Linked DNA regions of Homo sapiens: region 1 is linked to region 2. Evidence: promoter capture Hi-C in human tissues and cell types (Jung and others, 2019). All regions are on one chromosome and are shown on one strand. The core of a region is centred on a gene start or on the middle of the fragment in contact, and the rest is flanking DNA. Distances in the headings are between cores, read along the strand shown. Region 1 holds the start of GJC1 (gap junction protein gamma 1). Region 2 holds the start of C1QL1 (complement C1q like 1).

Region 1 (2,748 bases), core at 6-2,505, 140 kb after region 2:
CCCACACTTGTCATTTTAAATACATCTGTAGAGAGGCAATGTGATAAGGCGTGGGGACAGACTACAGCAATCACAGGGAGAAGTACTTAAATGCTCCGAGGCCAAGCAGGTCATGAAATGATTTAAGCAGCTGAGTGGGGACATTGCCTACCCGGACAAGGTGACTCAAGAGGAGCTGCCATGTGAAAAGAGAAGCTCAAAGTAAGCAGCTTTTGACTTTTTAGGGAGGCCAGAAATCTGGATTTTAATATTTTGGTAACTAATTCATATTTTTGGAAAACATACTGGCCACACAAAACTGGTCAGTGCATTAGATGCCTAGCCTTCAAGATTTCCACTCTGGGGCTACCCCTTAGGGCTTGGCTTTGGGTGGGGGAGTTTGACTTGCAGCAAGTAACCTCACTTGTTAGCGCTTAATTTCCCCTCTGGTCAAAAGGGCAAAATAATAAAAGCCTGTCCATCGGCATTCTGATGCTCAGATGAGATCATTCCAGAGGTCGCCCATCTCTTTACTGAGCCTTCCTTTATTACCCAAAGTCTTACTCTACTTAAAGCATTTGGAGAATTTTCGGTTTCCTACTGGGCATTTTAAAACTGGGGATTCCTATGCATGAAAATTTTTCCCAAGTCCTCTGAATGGGATCCTGCTGGGATGCAAAGAGTTAAGAGGAAATAGCCTATTAGGGTCTTGCTAATCCGAGAAGTTCAGGACCTGAAAAGTATCTAGAGCACTGCTAAGAGCCCCGACTCTAGCTAGATCCACGCAGGGCCCGCCAGATCCTCGAGGAATTGTAGAGCAGAACCTGGGAGGAGACATTAGCATCCCGTGCTACAATGGACCAAGGCCTCGGCGGAGCGCGCAGAAGACAACTCTGGGCCCGCTAAACCAACCCAGGATACCCAGGTAAGGCGAGAACCCACGGCGCCGTTAGCGGCCCGCTCAAACTGAGGCGCGGCTGGCGGGGGACTCTCGCCCGAAAATCAGCTTGGAAGAATGAACTGTCCGGAGCGAAGTCTGCGCCCACCCGGGGTCCAGACTCCACGCGGGTGACTCCCACGCGCGCCGCGCCTCCGCCGCGTCCCGGACTATCCGAGAGAGCGGCGAGGACTCGACCGCGGAAAGTTGGCGCTCGCGTCGCTTCCCGCGCGTTCTGGGGCGCCCCCCTCCCACTCGAGCGCCACGTGCCGCGCGCCCCCCGCTCCCGGGCCGCGGCGGGACGCCCCCGCCCCCACCGCAGCGCGCAGTGCGCAGGCGCCTTCCCGCGGGTCGCGGCGGCGGGAGCGGGAGGCGGCGGCGGCGGCGGCAGCGGCGGGAGCGGCTTCTGCCTCGGCTGGAGACTGAGGCGAAGGCGGCAGCGGCGGAGGAGGTGGAGGAGAGGCGAGGGTGAAGGCGATGGCGACGCGGGGCACATGAGGCCGCGACCGGCGGGACGGGCCGAGGCCCGGCGGAGGAGGCGGCTCCGGGGGAACCCGCCGCCGGGTGAGGGGCGGCCGCAGGGCCGGCTGAGGAGAAGCGGGCCAGGGGCGGGGTCCCAGGGGGAGGCGGGAGAACTCTTGGGGAGCCCGGGGAGGGGCCGAGGAGAACCTCCGGAGGTCCGGGGAGGAGCGCGGCCAGAGCGGGAGAAGGAGGGGGGCGCCGCCGAGGGGTTCCCGCCGAGTCCGGAGGGGCGTCGCCGGCCCGCGTCCTGCCACTGTCCCCGGCGCACCCTCCCTCTTTGTCCCCAGGCGCGCGGCTCCCAAATCGGGAGGGAAACGGCTCGGGGGTGTCCTGGGCCGCGGAGGTGTCGGGCGACGGTCGGGGAGCCCGGACAGAAGCGGCGCGCACTCGGCGGCGCCCCGGCGGTGCCGACAACTACCCGGGCGGTTAGGGGCGCAGGGCGGAGCCGGGCCGCCCCTCGCCGCCCGGGCTCTTCGCGGGCTGCTCTTTGTCTCCCCGACCTCGATCCCTGCGTCTCCGGCGGCGTGCGGGCTCGTCTGAGGCTTCCCGCATCTCCCCGCTGGAACTCCTGCCTCCCGGGGGTTAGAGGAGGGTTCGTTCGAGGGCTGGAAGCGGGAAAGCGGGGCGGAAGGACTGGGCTCATCGCCTCCTGATTAACTCGTTGTCTTTACTTAAAATGACTTTTCCCCCACTTTGTCAAACTTGAGAACTGTTTTGTGTGTGTGTGTGTTTCCTTAAGTCTCTAGCTTCAAAATTAAGAGTAGGCGCTACCGCTGTGATTGTGGGCAGTTGTGTGGTTGGCGGCTGCGTTTGGAGCTCTGAGTTGAAAAGATGTACGTGAATGTATGGTTTAGATTTTGTTCTTTTTTTTGCGATTGTCTGATTGGGAGTACTTTTCCTTTGCGAAATGGGCGAATTTGGTTTTCTTTTTGTTCATTGAGAACTGGCAGTGATACCGATTTCATTATGCTCATGCTTAATTTTGTTAGCATCAAGACGATGTGAAATCGAGTAAGTTAAGTTTGAATAAGTTCAGGCTGAGGGTCATCTTGTATGCCTGATAAGTCTAAATTTGTTATATGTTTGTGTCGTGTATACGTTCAAGTGAATATATGTGAAAGCGCTATAAAAAATCAAACTACATAAATGAAAGGGATTTTAATTTCCTGATAAGCAGGAAACAGCATATCTCCAGTACTTTAATATCTGTAGAAAAATGCGTTAATAATGTCATTTAGGAATAAAATATTTCTCTCCCTAGAGAGGGTTTAGGTATTATTCAGAGTAAAAGAGCAAAAAAATTTCAACCT
Region 2 (2,700 bases), core at 74-2,573:
CGGCGGGGGGTAGCTCTCGGGAGAGGAGAGGCTGGGATGTCATTCTTTAGCAGCCGGCCAGTCGCCTCCGAATGGCTGAATCCTCCCCGGTGGGCCGGATAAAGGAGGGCGAAGGAGGAGCGGTGGAGCAGCCCGACCTGGGCCTCAGATAATGTGACAAATATTTTGATGGAAGCAGACACGTTTCGGTTTATGCAACCTAAACACTTTGCTGCACTTGAGGAAGAGGAGAGCCTCCCACAGCCTGATGGGGAGAAGAGTTAGGGGGCGGCGGAGGAGGCTGGGGAGTGAGGGAGGAGGAGCTGAGGGGCTGGATGAGATCCACCCCTCATCCTGGAGGCTGGAAAAGGGGGTTACCCCTCAGGGACGTATTTGCATCTGTCAGCATGGAGAAATAACGTGGGGGTGCCCACCTTTTTAGGATCCCCTTTTCTCCCTGGTCTAGAGGCAGAAGTAAAGGGATTGAGCAGAGGGAGATGGAAGAAAAGGGCCCAGGAAAAAGCAGCCTGGCCACAGTTCGGTGAGGAAGGGGCAGAGGCGAGGAGGGGTTGGAAGCTCCTGCCCCACCTCGGGGGAGACGGGTCCCGGAACAGTCAGATCCAGAAAGGAGGAGGCGGCTGCCGTCTGGCTCCGCTGGGCCCCCGGACAGGCATTCATCCGATATCTGGATCTCCCAGACGGGTGGTCTGCGAGGCCTGAGTGCCAAATGGTCCCCTCCGTATCCTCTTCTTCGCTTCATAACCCCCTTTCTCATCCTACCTTCCAGCTCCCCGCTCCGTCCTCCCCTCAATCGCTCTTTGTCCCCTGCAGACCTGGGCGCTATCCCCTCGCTTCCGCCCCCTGCGGGTCTTGGCCCGTCGCGACCCCAGTCCCTCTGTTTTCCTGGTGACCGACCCTCGAAGCCTCTCCTCTCCCGATCCCCTCGGAGCTCTCTAGCTCTCCCTGTGGCCCTCTCTCCCTTTCGCATTTTGGTCCCTACTCTCCCCTTCCCTTGGAGCGCCTCTCGGGTCTCTCGGACCCCGGCCCCCACCCCATTTCCGAATCTCGGTCTCCGCGTACTCAGTCTCTTCTTTCCTCTCCCTGCTCCCGCCCGGGGTCTCCGCGGCCCCGCCCCCTTATGCCCCGCCCACCTCGAGGCGCCCGCGGCCCAATTAGGCGCCGGCCCCGCCCGCAGCCCCACCCCTAGAGAGCCCAGAGCCGCGCGGAGCTGGCGGGGCGGGGCCCGGCCGAGGGGGCGGTGGCCCGGCTCAAGGAGGCGGGAGGAGTCAGGCGGGAGGCTGCAGGCGGGAGGCGGGAGGCGGGAGGCGGCGGCCGCGGCGCTCAGTCCGGCAGCGCAGCAGGAGGGAGGCGCGAGGCAGGAGCCGGCGGCTGGGCTCCGCAGCGCAGCCAGCGCAGCGCGGCGCCCCGGGCCCGGCCCCATGCCCGCAGCCCCGCCGGACCGTCCTTGAGCGCGGGCGCCTAGCCCGCGCCCCCTGCCCGCCGGCACCATTGCCCCGACGGCGCGGCCGGGCGGCCCGGCGCTCCCCAGGCTCCGCGCGGGCCGAAAGACGCTGCTAGCGGCCGCCGCGGGTGTGGTGATGCTGCTGGTGCTGGTGGTGCTCATCCCCGTGCTGGTGAGCTCGGGCGGCCCGGAAGGCCACTATGAGATGCTGGGCACCTGCCGCATGGTGTGCGACCCCTACCCCGCGCGGGGCCCCGGCGCCGGCGCGCGGACCGACGGCGGCGACGCCCTGAGCGAGCAGAGCGGCGCGCCCCCGCCTTCCACGCTGGTGCAGGGCCCCCAGGGGAAGCCGGGCCGCACCGGCAAGCCCGGCCCTCCGGGGCCTCCCGGGGACCCAGGTCCTCCCGGCCCTGTGGGGCCGCCGGGGGAGAAGGGTGAGCCAGGCAAGCCGGGCCCTCCGGGGCTGCCGGGCGCGGGGGGCAGCGGCGCCATCAGCACTGCCACCTACACCACGGTGCCGCGCGTGGCCTTCTACGCCGGCCTCAAGAACCCCCACGAGGGTTACGAGGTACTCAAGTTTGACGACGTGGTCACCAACCTAGGCAACAACTACGACGCGGCCAGCGGCAAGTTTACGTGCAACATTCCCGGCACCTACTTTTTCACCTACCATGTCCTCATGCGCGGCGGCGACGGCACCAGTATGTGGGCAGACCTCTGCAAGAATGGCCAGGTGGGCCAGGCGGGGGCATGGGGCTGGGCTGGGCCCAGGGCACCCAGGGAGCCCGGGGCAAATGGGTACCTGATCGGAGTTGGCGGGGGCGCCAGGCGGACGCAGGTGGAGATCCCACCCCACAGCGGCCCCGCTTGGTCATCACGTGTGGGGATGGTCGGAGCCAGCGGACATCGCCGATCCTCAGTTCCTGGGTTCCCGCTCCAAGACAGACGCTGCTGGGCACCGTCTGGAACGCTACTGGAAATGCGGGAAATGAACCCAACTAGTCAGAGCGCAGGGCTCCCAGGTGCACGGACTTGCCCTTGGGGGCTTGCCCCTTGGGAAGTGGATTCGGGCCGACAGCAGTGGGCGATAAGGGGAGGGCAAGGATGGGCTCTGGCGTATGGAACAGGGAGAAGCAGCATCCGCGCCCGCGGGCGCCTAGGCGCGTGGCCATGGGCGCGAGCGGAGAAGGCTGGCTGCAGGAAATGTTTGGGGCACAAAGGCAAAGGGAGCCCGGTGCTTACAGCCCTGGCTGCAGTGC

What was found. The method cuts DNA at HindIII sites, captures the fragments that hold promoters and counts their contacts. A contact is called where the count stands out against the background at its distance.
Region 1: a contact is called between the fragment with the promoter of GJC1 here and the fragment with the promoter of C1QL1 in region 2, in 1 of the 25 tissues and cell types used here (thymus).

What each region holds. Positions count from the first base shown.
Region 1 is chr17:44,828,794-44,831,541 of GRCh38, reverse strand. GJC1 (gap junction protein gamma 1) reads left to right here and starts at 1,255. Exons shown (of 3, transcript NM_005497.4): 1 at 1,255-1,480. RefSeq lists enhancers at 1-623, 624-1,597 and a silencer at 1,653-1,942. The HindIII fragment of the contact is 21,747 bases long and covers 1-2,748 here.
Region 2 is chr17:44,966,926-44,969,625 of GRCh38, reverse strand. It overlaps C1QL1 (complement C1q like 1), which reads left to right and starts at 1,323. Exons shown (of 2, transcript NM_006688.5): 1 at 1,323-2,174. The coding sequence starts at 1,578. RefSeq lists a silencer at 1,033-1,392. The HindIII fragment of the contact is 17,092 bases long and covers 1-2,700 here.